Regions from separate parts of the Homo sapiens genome. Here all the other regions are linked to region 3. Evidence: promoter capture Hi-C in human tissues and cell types (Jung and others, 2019). All regions are on one chromosome and are shown on one strand. The core of a region is centred on a gene start or on the middle of the fragment in contact, and the rest is flanking DNA. Distances in the headings are between cores, read along the strand shown.

Region 1 (3,177 bases), core at 572-3,071, 620 kb after region 3:
TGTCACTGAGGCATTCTTATTAATTCTTTGAGCCTCTCAGGTGCTGCAGTTAAATCTAATTTCAGTGACTAGGAATAACTGAGCCTTGGTCAAAAACAGAAGCCTGCTGTTGTTAAACTATATTATTAAAGTGGACTACCCTAGGAAATGCATTTTATTCAGTAAATAAGTCACACAGGAACTTAGGCTGTATAGCTAGAGATGCTGTTCCTTTGTTTGAGATCTTGCTGGGCTGTATAGTTAGAGATGCTGTTCTTTTGTTTGAGATCTTGCTGGGCTGAGGAGCTTCTGATGGCTTGCTCGCCATCCCATTTAACCAAAGACTCTCTCTCTCTGCTGATGGATGATCACTGGTTTCTTTGCAGATCTGGGAAATGTGTTTGGCTTGCTCCCCGATATGACATGCCTGCTCAGCTTGCTGGCTTTTGCAAAGTTTAGCTCAGTTGTGGGTTTTTCTTGCTTCCAGGAGACTTGGGTTGGCTTTTCACATTCCTAGGTCTCCTGTGTCTGAAAACCTTCAGTTTGGCTTTACAAATGATCCTATAATGTAACACTAGCTCCTGAATGGTAACATAAGTTTGGTAATAATAATAAAATAGAAATAGGGAGCGATCAGATTATTAGCATGGGCATATGAATTAAGCCATATTGCAACAAATCTGTTTCAAGGGTAATAATCTTAGTTTGGACAGAATTGAATTCAAGACCTCAGTCTCGCTGGCATTTCCTACATCCACTTTCTCAAACTATGAAACTTTCCAGATATGTACTTGAATGATATATGTTCCCAACTAGACTTCATGTGGTCTTCTAAAAGAAAGTCTCCTCTCAACCTCTTTTTTCAAATGCCCTGATATTTTTTGAGTCCTAGGTAGCTGAATATCCTCCAAAGTTATATATAAGAAGGTCCCCATACCTCTGTGGTCTCCAAGGACAGAGATTACTGTTTCTTTTGTTCATCAGGTATCTCTAGCCTGGCACATGAAAGGTGTTCAAAAAATATTAGCTGGTTTAACAAATAAATGAATAAATGCAATATGAATAATTATAATTACAATTACAATACTTTTCTCAAAGATTATTGAAAGAATTATTTGAAAACATTCATGAACTTTTAAGTCTTATGAAAGTGAATAAATTGGATTCACTAGTGCCATAAACCATGGTTAATTCCACACCTTCTCTTTATGTTATGTCCAATGAGAAGTGCAGAAAGCACATTTACACAACTCTAATCGTCTTTTGTTTATATAAAAACCTGTTTCTAAGCAAAATTATACAAGTGACATATTTCATATTTGCTGCCATTCAAACCTCCTTTTATTAGTGCTGCTCTATTTTGAGGGGGTATCAATTTCCAGGGGCCCAAGGCCCTCAGAGAATCTTGTACATTTTACATAATTAGTTTTGAAGATTCTCTCATCCTTACTGCAGACACTGAGCATTTGCTACCATTGCCTCTTCACCATCACAGCTTATCTTTCCTATCTTACATTCTTTTTTTTTTTTTTTTTTTTTTTTTTTTTTTTCAGACAGAGTCTCACTCTGTCACCCAGGCTGGAGTGCAGTGGTGTGATCTCGGCTCACTGCAACCTCCACCTCCCAGGTTCAAGCGATTCTTCTGCCTCAGCCTCCCGCGTAGCTGGGGCTACAGGTGCATGCCACCACACCCAGCTAATTTTTGTATTTTTAGTAGAGACGGGGTTTCACCATATTGGCCAGGCTGGTCTCAAGTTCCTGACCTCATGATCCACCCACCTCGGTCTCCCAAAGTGCTGGGATTACAGGCATGAGCCACCGTGCCCAGGCTCCTATCTTATATTCTTTCTCAGCATTAAAAAGCCAACCTTAAAACTTTGTGTATGTGGTCATGTTATCAGCGGGTTACTACTTAATGTGATACTTCCCACGTGGTGTGTGTGTCTTTCATTAGGAGCAGCTACTTCAGCCCTCCTGGCAAAATGGCAGGAGAATATTGGCTCTTCCAAGAACACTTCATATGGTGCCACATTGACAGCTACCTATTTTATCTGTGCATAAATCCTGCCCCAGTAACACACACTAAGGTGTTTCTCATCTGTGCTCTAAATGGATGAGAAACTAGGTTCAGATGGTGAACTAGGAGACTCGGGCAAATTGCCCCCTCTCTCTCTGCCTTAGGTTCTTTACCTATAAATTGAAAAGTGGGGAAGGTAGTGCCCCAGATTTTCTCATCTTTTCTGCACCTAAAACAGTAATGATTCTGAGATTCACTGGAATATGCTTCATATAAAATAAACCAGGTTAAAAGGGAAATCCTTAAGAGATACTGCTGTTTTTCTTACACTTGTCATTAGACTCTTTATGATAATAGAATAATTTAGGAGCCAAAAGTATAATATATATTTTTTGCAGTACATAAGCTTTATGAAGACAACAAAGTGATTTTTGAAGAATGACCAGCCAGGTGCTGTGGCTCACACCTGTAATCCCAACACTTTGAGAGGCTGAGGCAGGCAGATCACTTGAGCCCAGCAATTTGAGACCAGCCTGAGCAATAGGGCAGAACCCCATCTCTACAAAAAATTCTACAAAAAAATTAGCTGGGTGTAGTGGCATGTGCCTGTGATCCCAACTACTCAGGAAGCTGAGGTGAGAGGATCACTTCAGTAGGGAAGGTTGAGGCTGCAGTGAGCTGAGATCATGCCACTGCACACCAGGCTGGGTGACAGAGTGAGACCCTGTAAAAAAAAAAAAAAAAAAAAAAAAAAAAAAAAAAAAAAAAGAATGACCAAACTCATTCTCCAAAGAGAACTGAAGAATATAAATTTTACTGAACTATACAGAATATATTCCACAGTGCATTCTGATTACTGCTTTTATTTCCTCCGCTTTCAGGATCTTGCGACACCTAGAATGATTCTTCAAGCCACTTATTCTTTGTGATAACACATTTCTATCATAGATCCCAGTATATCTAGCCTGAGCTGAGTCTTCAGCCTTATCAGGACTATCATCTGCAATGTGAGAAACAAAGATCTAAATTTCCATTTTTTTGTGGAGGAATTACTTCCTAGTTGAGATTCTTTCAACATACAAAAGCGGGAACACCATGAAACTGTCTCTTAAAAAACATAAAATATGCCTGTTGCAAGATGCGATTGTAATGTTATTATTCAATCAGTTTGTGTCCTGCAT
Region 2 (3,311 bases), core at 95-2,594, 550 kb after region 3:
CTGATTCGGTGCAATAACATATTCAGTAATTCTTTGTATATTTGCAAACACTTTTGCACTCCTGTAGATGAATCTCAGAAACTCAACGAGCAGAAGAAGCCAGACACACAAATGAGGACATGCTGGATGTTTCTATCTATAGAAGCTCCAGAACAAATAAAACTACTATATGTGATAGAGGTTAGAATAACAGTTACTTTTGGAAGCAGAATGAGAGAGCCTGCTGGGATGCTGGAAATGTCTGTTTCTTGCTCTGTGTGGAGGTTACCTGTGTTTATACATAGGTAAAAATCATCAAGCTGTCTGCTTCGGGTTTTTGCACTTAACTGTATGTGAAATATACTTCTAAAAAGAGAAAGAGTCTTAAAAAGGGAAGAAAAATTAATAAATCAAGAGCCTAACTGGAAGAAAATTGTAAAAGAAGACCAAAAATAAGCCCTTCCTCTATTAAAAAGCATCAGAACAAAAACTGTTAAAGTTCCAGCAAAACTCTCAGGAACAAATATATTTAATGCTACTTAAAATGTTCTAATTTTTAGGCCAGACACAGTGGTTCATGCCTGTAATCCTAGCACTTTGGGAGACAGAGGCTGATGGATCACCTGAGGCCAGGAGTCCAAGACCAGCCTGGCCAGCATAGCAAAACCTCGTTTCTACTAAAAATAAAAAACATAGGCGTAGTGGCCACCATCTGTAATCCCAGCTACTTGGGAGGCTGAAGCATGAGAATCTCTTGAACCCGGGAGGCAGAGGTTGCAGTGAGCCGAGATCAAGATTGTGCTACTGCACTCCAGCCTGGGCAACAGAGCGAGACTCGGTCTCAAAAAAAAAAAAAAAAAAAAAAGAATAAAATGTACTTATTTTTAGAAGTAGATAAATGAAAAGTTTCCCAAATCATTCTACAACATAAAAAGGTGACCTCATATTTTTGGCCTGATTTTGGCCACAATATAGAAGTATCAAGTACCCAAATTCTTTTTTTTTTTTTCCTTTTGAGATGGAGTCTCACTCTGTCGCCCAGGCTGGAGTGCAGTGACATGATCTCGGCTCACTGCAGCCTCTGTCTCCCAGGTTCTAGCAATTCTCCTGCCTTAGCCCCCCAAGTAGCTAGGATTACAGGCGCACAACACCATGCCTGGCTAATTTTTGTATTTTCAGTAGAGATGGGTTTTCACCATGTTGGCCAGGCTGGTCTCGAGCTCCTGACCTCAAGTGATCCGCCTGCTCTGGCTTCTCAAAGTGTTGGGATTACAGACTCAAACAGACACACTTGAACTTGTTAGGAGACACTGAACTAGTCCTCTTTTTTTTTTTTTTTTTTTTTTTTTTTTTTGGCAGAGTCTCACTCTGTTGCCCAGGCTGGACTGCAGTGGTGTGAACTTGGCTCACTGCAACCTCAGCATCCCAAGTTTAAGCGATTCTCCTGCCTCAGCCTCCCAAGTAGCTGGGACTACAGGCACATGCCACCATGCCCGGCTAATTTTTGTATTTTTAGTAGAGACAGGGTTTCACTATGTTGGCCAGGCTGGCCTCGAATTCCTGACCTCAGGTGATCCACCCACCTCTGCCTCCCAAAGTGCAAATTAGCCCTCTTGATCCAGCCTTGCCTCCTTTTACTTTGGACTGCTACAAGGAGGGAAAAACTGAAAAGGCAGCTAAACTTCCCCATCCCCACCCTGAAGACCTGCAACTACAGATTAAGCTTGATCTGGGGGAAGGGAAACAGATTCGAACAATTATGAATGTACATGGTTGACATTTATCAAGTGAGCTCCAGTTATTTGATCACCATGCAAACAAGTCAAGGATTCATGAAAAGATTTTTCAAATTAAAGTATATTCAAAAGCTAGAAATCCATTGGAAAGCATGACACAACCAAGTTCAGGCAGCTCTCTTACAGTGTATAAACACGAATTTTCAGAAAGTTAAAAGTTAAACATTAAAAATTTTATTTTAAAGATCAGTGAGAACAATATCTGTTTATGTCAGTCCAGGTTACTCCTATGATACAAAAAGCATTTGCTATAACATGTTTATATTTCTTCACTAAAGGCCCACCTTTACTCTTTCTTTTTGACCTCTGTACAAATGAAACTTGTGAAGCAATCATTGCATCTGCTGGAGCTGGGAGTCTGTTTGCATTTCCATTCATCCCCTTGTTTCTGGGGGTTCCACATTCAGGCACAGAAAGAAAAAGCTAGTAGAGCAGCAGGCCTTGGTCTGAAATCAGCACTTACAGTATCAGCCCACGTAGAAACAGATCTTTTTGTAAGGTTGAATAGGGCTGATAAAATAATAGATTGTCCTGCTGTGTGGAAGCCATGGGAATGCAGCTAATGGCACTCACACAGGTCCCAGGAACCCACCTAGGAGCTGCAGCAAGAAACTTATGAAAAAGTAAGGTTTAAGCAAGGTGCTGTGGCTAAATTAACATAATATGTAAATGTGTATATGCTTGTGTCAGTAAGGCCTATGTGTATGTTGGGTCTTAACCATTAACACACACATTGGTTTGATATATCCAGCTTCTGTTTCAAGTTCTAGTACTGTCTAGCAATCTTTCTGGAAATATGCCCCACGTTTCAACCATACTTCTGCCAAGAGAACAGGCTCCCAGGGAAATGGCAGTGTGTATTCCATTAAAACCAATCAATTGTATTGTTAAACTATACAAATATTTCCATGCAATTTTCAAAAGAAATATAATTTTCTGAACAATATCACACAAATATCTTGAAACACACCACAGAAATCAAAACGTTCATTTGTAGTCCCCCAGCCCTTAGATTTCTGTCCGTGATTCCCAACTCATTCAGCATCTTAGGAACCAAGCAGGCATATTCTGTAGCTAGAATATATCAGGGCAACTTCAGCCTTTTCCCTACCCCAGGCAAAAGCCATCCTGTGCCTTTGGGCTCTATTCCTTATGTCCTAACAGACAAGAAAAAAAAATGCACAGGAAATGGCTTTGGATTCGGGAGGTGAAGGTGGTGGCAAGAAGAGCTGGTAACTATGCAGTGAGTAACTCATCAGCAAAATTAAAGTGTGTGTGCATGCGTGTGTGTCAGAGACAGAGAGACAAGAGGATACCTGCTTTAATAGGAAAGAATAAGTAGTTCTTGGTAAGGTCTAAATGATAAATATGGCCTCACAGTAAAGCCAAGTCTGCACGTGATATTTCTTTTTGTAAGACTTGTATTACCAAAACTTTTATTTTTATAAAGAATAGTGTCTTAAGTTAAATGGAAAAAGCTATAATGTTAGAATATAAATCTTTGGGCTTACTGAGCTGAAAAGGGAGATTGCCCTT
Region 3 (3,098 bases), core at 226-2,725:
CACGAACAAAGGAGCAGCCAACACTGTAGCGAAAAGCTAGATAGGGGGCCCGGTCAGGGATGAAGGTGAGGGACACTTTAAAGCCCACTGGAAAGAGCCTGACTGTTACTAGTTTAACCAGAGCGAAAGCCAGGCCAGCTTCCCTCCGAGTCACTGAGGAGCACGGGGCGCCCCACGCAAAGTAGGCCACTGCCTGCCCAGCGTGGGCTGGGAAGCAAAACACGCTCCCCAGTTCCGGCCCAGAAATGTCCCCAGCCGGGTCAAACGTGGGTTACAGCCTGGAGGGAAGGAGCAAGGAAAAGGGCGCACAGACCCAGGAGGCTGGAGAGCGCAGTGTGGACTAACTCGTCGAACGAAGCCTGCGCCGGGCCCGGGACTCAGCCCGAACTGCGCGTCGGAAGCTGAGGGTCCGCGGCGGCGGGAAGGGGCCCGGCTGGGAGAGGCCGGCAGGCAGGCGCCAGGCGAGCGGGCGCGCACGGGGCCCGGCCAAGGGCGCGCGGGGCCGCCTGGGGGAGGGGGCCGGCGGAGGCCCGGGCGTCGAGGAAGTGAGCGGGCGGGCGGGGTAGGGGGCAGTCGGGAGGCGGGAGAAGCGAGCTGCCCCAGCGGCCTCTCACCTGTGTCGTCCCCTCGCGTCTGGGCGGCTGCGCTGCTGTTGTGGTAGGACTGGAGGTAAGGGCTGTGCTGCGAGTGGCTCATGTAGGGGTAGGCGGCGAGCGAGCGGTGGTTGTAGGAGTTCCCTCCGCCCGACGCGTAGGGCGAGCCGTGGTGGTGGTGCTGGTGGTGGTGGTGGTGGTGCGAGCCGGCCGCTGCCGCCGCCGCCGCCGAGTGCAGGCAGTGCAGAGGGTAGTGCGCGCCTGCCATGGCCGGGGAGCTCTGCTGCGAGTGCGGCTGCGGCGGCGGCGGCGGCGGCGGCGGCGGCTGTTGCTGTTGCTGCTGCTGCTGCTGCTGCTGTTGCTGCTGCTGCTGCTGCTGCTGCCCGAACTCCATGAAGGCGGATTTGGACGAGTCCTGGCCTTCCAAGCCGTCAGCCATCGTAGTCATGGTCATCATCAAAAACTTTGGGGGCTGGAGAAAGCCTTCTCCCGGGTTTCCTCCACCCTCCCCCACTTGGCTCGCGCCGCTCTCCCCTCTGCAGCCACCTTAGCTCTTTGGATCCTTGCAAAAAAAAAAAAAAAAAAAAAAAAGAATTTAAAGAGGGGGGTGGAGGTGGTTCTCCCTCTCCCTCGCTCTTCTCTAATATATATATATATTTAATATAAAGAGATATAGTGAGCGGGGCCTTGTTAACTCAAAGGGAGGAGGAAGGAGGAGGGATGGGAGAGGAGAGGGGGAGGGGGGAATCTGCTCTCCCCCCGCCTGCTTTCCCCCCTTGGATTTTTTGGGGGCTGGTGCAGTTTAAGGCAGAGATTTTAAGGTGGATTCTGCGAAAGTTGCGCGTCTGCTTTCAGACTTGATGCAGACGCCACGAGTCGAATGGTTTGTCTCCAAAGGGCAGTGCCTCCCCATTGGTCAGTCGCCCCCTGACGTCACAGGCGCACGGCTTCTACTGGCGTGTGCGCGACTTGCAGAGTTCTTCGCCTACCTTCCGCAGTTCCAATCCCAGCCGGAGCTGCAGCCGGGGGCCGCGCTGTGTGGCGCCCGGGGCCGTTGGGGAGGGAGGCGCCTCTGCCCGGCCGGCCGCCGATGCTTCCCGCCGCAGCTCGTGCCCCAAATCCCGGAGCCCCAGTTGCCAATATCTCAGCCTTGAAACAGCCAACTGGGGGCTGCTCTCTTTCAATCCCTTTGCACCCTTGTAGGTTGCCTGTGCTTAGAAGCAGTGACCCCACCCCCGCATTAAATCCAGGCCCCCCTTTCTTGACGTCCCTGCCACTCTGGTCCTACTACACTCTTGTGGGAGCTCCTTGTCACCGTGGATTTTTCTAGACGTATTTTATTGAAACCACAGAAGGAAGACGAACCCTCACACCTGGGCTCCACCCCACTGGGGGGTGGTACAGAAAAAGAAAAATCAGACCCTGTTCTGGCTCGGTCCCTGCCGTTTCAGGCCGTATTTCTTATATATTGTACAAAAGGTTGTGGGGGGGGGGGGCGTCTTTTTTTTCTTTTCAGAACGCAGCAGCGTGTTCTGAAAACGAATCGTTGGAGGACTGACAGTAATGCATTTTTTCCTATTGAAAACAGAAGCTACTGTAATGCTTTCAAATATATGCAAATGATACATGCGGTTAGTGGTTTGGCAAATCTTGATTACAATATAAACTACCCAAGTAAAAGTGCCTTCGTCCTAAATTTGTCTCTCGATTACAATTCCAATTGATTTTATTTTATTGTCAACATTGTTAATGATAAAAATAGAGTCGTTTTACAGTTATTTTTACTTTCTGGAAGGAGGCAATTAGAGTTCTAATCAGGAATACACAAAAATCTCCCATGATTAACTGCAGTACTTTGTTCAAATTGCTGCTATAAAATTCAGAACAATTTGCCTGTAATGATTATGGACTGGGTTTATTTTGGGAGGTGGAATAAAAGTGGATATAGCATAAATTATCCTCTAATTATACACCAGTGTCGCCTCAATTATCCTCTTATCAAAATGGTTGTCTAACTGCCGCATTTAGTTTCAATTCTCTCCTTTTTTTCTATAAAAAGAACTTCATACCTTGTTATTATTAATCCATTTATTATTTGCAAGGGGATTTATATCCGCACATCCAGGTGGTAGAACCACTTCTCTTTCAAAGATGGACTGGGGAAAGACATTAAGTTCGGAGCAGCCCAAGGCTGCGGATCTAGCCTTTCTCCCTCCGGTCTCCAGACCCACGCAGGTTAAGGCAGCCAAGCAGAGACAGCGGAGCCCCGGTGCGTGGTTCAGGCCTGGTCAACAGGTAGGAGGGCCAGACTGGGGGCCAGGCACAGAGGAGGGCAGGCCCGCCCGCACCGGCGTCCAGGGTCCCGGGTTCCGGGTCCCGGGACTGGAGGAGGTCGCCGGCAGCCCGCCCTTCCAGAGGCTTGAGATTGGGTGGACGAGACCTGAAGATCCTCTCGGTCTGGACCCCGACTTTCGATCTGCTTAGAGACCTAAGCCGCGAGCCTTT
Region 4 (3,550 bases), core at 757-3,256, 700 kb after region 3:
TGTGATCTCCTAAGTAGAGCTTTTCAGCACTTTATAAATACGTCATATACTTTTTATATTCCTTTGTTCCCCATCAGGAACATAGCCCCAGTCTTCAGAATAGCACAATCAGTTTTTATTCATTTAAGGAGCAGTAGTAATTTGACACTTGCTAATATGTAACAAATTATATTGGGCGTGGTAATTACAATTGCAGCTGGTTCCTAATTATACTGTAACCTTGATGCTTACAAAAATTGAGACTGAATTCAGCATAAAATACTGGAGAATAATATTCTGCACTAGGCATTTCTGCCTTCTACTGAGCCATGGGCATTTATGAATCATAATGCCAAATTAAAAAGAATTTATTTTAAATTGGTTACAATTACAATGTTGTCCAGTGTCTCCATTCTTAAAGGTAGCTTTAAAGTCCCCCTTTTTGCTTGCTAAACTCTGGGAATATCCTTCAGGTATTATAATTAGTGTCTAAATAACCTGAGCTCAGGGGTCATTTCTGGCTGTGTGATCTACTGGTATTCATTTAAGACTCTTTAGTACCTCAGCTTCTTTATTTGAAAAGTGGGGATATTACTCACTCTTCCCCTTAAAGAGTTTTAATGATACAGTATATAAATGAAATAAGATAAAAAGCCATTAGCATAATGCCTGGCATAGAGTTAAGGACCCAGTAAAAGTTAGCTGGTCATTGTTATCGTTATAATTAATAATAAGTGATCCGGCTCCAAAGACTGCCTCTGTGACCCTCAACTTTAGCAGAATTAGTGTATTAATTCTCCTGCCACTCTGCCTTATGATAGCATGTATCATCATACATTTTGTACCAACCACTTGTCGATAAGTCAGCTTTCCCTGCTTGGGGCAGGGTTTCTGATTTATTGGGTGTTTTCTCCTCGGTGCCTGGCGCTGGGCCTAGTACACTGCAGCTTTCCCATAGGTGATTGTGTTGCATGGATGAGCAAGTAGAGCATCACCATCTAAGGAGTGGTTGTTAGCTGGGGGGTGGGGTAGTTTGGCCCCCAAGAGGATTTCTTTTAGCAACCTCTGGAGACAGTTTCTTGGTTGTTGCAGCTTGTTGGGGAAGGGGTTGCTACTCCCATCTAGCAGGTAGAGGTCAGCTTAATAACAATAATAGTAAAATCCAGAACTAGTATGTTTCAGGCTCTTTTGGCATAACAGAACCCAGCTAAAACACCACCATTCATTCTTAACTGTTATACTCTGCCTCTTAATATCAGAATTTTAATGATGATGGCTTTCTAGTTTATGTTCTACAACAGAGCAGAGTGAAATCTAACATACATCACAACCTACTGAATCCTTCTGATAAACATCTCTAGTGCCTCTGAAATGACTCGCTGATGTAATTACCCAGTGGGTTAACATTTGTGGTGTCTGATACTTTATAAGTCAACTGTTGAGTGAAATGAAGTTTTGCCAGCTGATTACATAGAAATGTTGTGGTTTGAAGAATGCTTAACAGGGCATCTTGTCTTTGTACTAATTTATATTTCAGTAACTTTTCCCATAATGACTGCTCTTCATTTATTAGGTCGTAGGGAAACTGTAGGATGAAGGATGAGTGACTCAGTGGTTTCAATAAAAAATTATTTTCTTAAGTTTGAGATACCTTTTTCTTCTTCTCAAGTTAATGGTAACTGTGGTTTTAGGGAATTCCAAACTTTCTTTTGCAATTACTGATTGTATCAGTCAGGGCTCACTCGCAGAGAACAGAATCTACTCTAGCTGGTTTAAGCAGAGAGAGATTTATTACAGGATATTAAATGGCTTACACAATTTGTTGGGAAGGTAAAGAAACAGACTTGAGGTTGAGCTCTAAAGAATGACGTCTAGAGTCTCAAGCAGAGCAGGCCACCAAGACAGCAGTGACCTCCTGTGCAGTCACAATGCTGCCTGCCAAGTGGAGAGTGTTTCAGGACCATGTGGCCACTGACATGGGAGGGCAGGAGGTTGCCACAGGAAAACTAGACACTTCCAGCAATGGTGCGTGCTTGGCAGAAACAGCAGAAGGTGCCCCCCAACTCCCAAACATTTGCCAAATCTCACTCAATTTCATCTAATTGATGGCACATAGGCCGCATAGCAGCAAGGGAGTCTGGGAATTGTAGTTTCAGCCTTCTAGTGTCTTTAGTATAGGAAGATAAAGAAGGAGGGTGGGCCCCTGCTTCTAAGTGGTTAGGTTACACCCAAGAATACTTTTCTTTGGGATTCAGGGCCATCTACTGCACTATTTCCTCAGGTTCAAAAGACTATGCAGGACTGTTTCTCCTTCTCTCTCCGTTTCCTGCTTGTCACTGCATGCTTATTTACACCCACCCACCCACACACACACCCAGAAGCTTGCTTTTGATGAGCTACCTCTTTGAGTTTGTAGTTCTTATCTAAGGCAAATATTTACTTTATGATAGTAGAATTTTCAGTGTAAGTCTGTGCTTGTCTTGGCTTTCAGATGTTTCAGGTTTGGGAGGGTGACTGGGGAAGTATTGCTGAGGAAGGGCTGTGCTGTACAGTTGGTGACGTAGCAGCTGAGGTTGGGCCTCGGGTCCTAACGCAGTTGTTCTCAGTCCACCCACACATGGTAATTTCTTGAGGGAGCTCTAAAGATATCCATTCTAGAAATTTTCATTTGATTGACCTTTGGTATGGTTTGGGTTTTGTAAAACCTAAAAGCACCTCAGGGGACTTGAATATGCAGCGAGGACTGAGAACCTACATCTTATAATCCGTACATTAAAATTGGACATTATCTAAAGCTGTGGTTCTTAAACTTTAACTGCATCAGGGTCACCTGGAGGGCTTGTTAAATCATAGGGGATTGCTGGGCCTCACCCAGTTTCTGATTCTTTGGGTCTGGGATGGGTGTGATAATTTGTATTTTTAAAAGTTCCCAGGTGATGCTGATGGTCTCCACACTTTGAGAACCATTGGTCTGAAGAGAGTTGCCTATTTTCATTGTAAATGTCAGATTTTTACTGACCTGAAAGACTTTATTCTATATTCAGCACTTCCAGAGAATCTACTTTGTTTCCTGATCTTTGCCAGAGTTGGGGTTGATCTGAGGAGTAAGGTGCCCTCACAGAGATGGTGGTCTCACATCTCTACAGCCTCCCAGTGAAAGAGGAGAGCTTTGCTTTTCTTTGCATTTTATTTTTCAAATTAGCATTTCTTATTTTCGTGTAGGTTTTCTTATATTCTTCCCCACCATCCTCTCTTAGATCTGACAACTATTTTGAATACACCATTCTATACCACTGTGATTTGTTAAAGTAATGAGCCTGCAACTGTGGCTTGATTCCCTTGTAAGAAAGTCTGTTTAAAAAATATTCCTACAGGTAGGAATTTTCTGGTGACCCCCTACCTATGGCTGCTCTAACTCATATTAGGAGAGTGAATTCATTTGTCCTGAAAGATGACTTTTGTATTCTTCTTGCCATGTTCTCCCCTACCCCCTGCCTTTTTAAAAACACCAGTTCTTGAAATTGTGTTATTGTTTTTCTTTTTATTTCTAGGATGTACCTACCTAGTATGT

The links. Contacts are between HindIII fragments. The study calls those that stand out against the background at their distance.
Region 1: a fragment that was not itself captured here is called in contact with the fragment with the promoter of DLX6 in region 3 in 3 of the 25 tissues and cell types used here (mesendoderm cells, neural progenitor cells and small bowel).
Region 2: a fragment that was not itself captured here is called in contact with the fragment with the promoter of DLX6 in region 3 in 1 of the 25 tissues and cell types used here (neural progenitor cells).
Region 4: a contact is called between a fragment that was not itself captured here and the fragment with the promoter of DLX6 in region 3, in 1 of the 25 tissues and cell types used here (dorsolateral prefrontal cortex).

The regions. Positions count from the first base shown.
Region 1 is chr7:96,381,653-96,384,829 of GRCh38, reverse strand. The region is part of intron 1 of LOC105375410 (a long non-coding RNA gene); the gene reads right to left. Among named protein-coding and RNA genes, the nearest start is that of SLC25A13, 61 kb to the right of the region's middle. The HindIII fragment of the contact is 6,333 bases long and covers 1-3,177 here.
Region 2 is chr7:96,451,144-96,454,454 of GRCh38, reverse strand. The region is part of intron 1 of LOC105375411 (a long non-coding RNA gene); the gene reads right to left. Among named protein-coding and RNA genes, the nearest start is that of SLC25A13, 130 kb to the right of the region's middle. The HindIII fragment of the contact is 4,279 bases long and covers 1-3,311 here.
Region 3 is chr7:97,003,930-97,007,027 of GRCh38, reverse strand. It overlaps DLX6 (distal-less homeobox 6), which reads right to left and starts at 1,475. Exons shown (of 3, transcript NM_005222.4): 1 at 615-1,475. The coding sequence starts at 1,050. All of the region lies in intron 1 of DLX6-AS1 (DLX6 antisense RNA 1), which reads left to right. RefSeq lists a silencer at 625-724 and an enhancer at 2,037-2,758. The HindIII fragment of the contact is 17,411 bases long and covers 1-3,098 here.
Region 4 is chr7:96,302,148-96,305,697 of GRCh38, reverse strand. The region is part of intron 1 of SLC25A13 (solute carrier family 25 member 13); the gene reads left to right. Among named protein-coding and RNA genes, the nearest start is that of SLC25A13, 18 kb to the left of the region's middle. The HindIII fragment of the contact is 7,350 bases long and covers 1-3,550 here.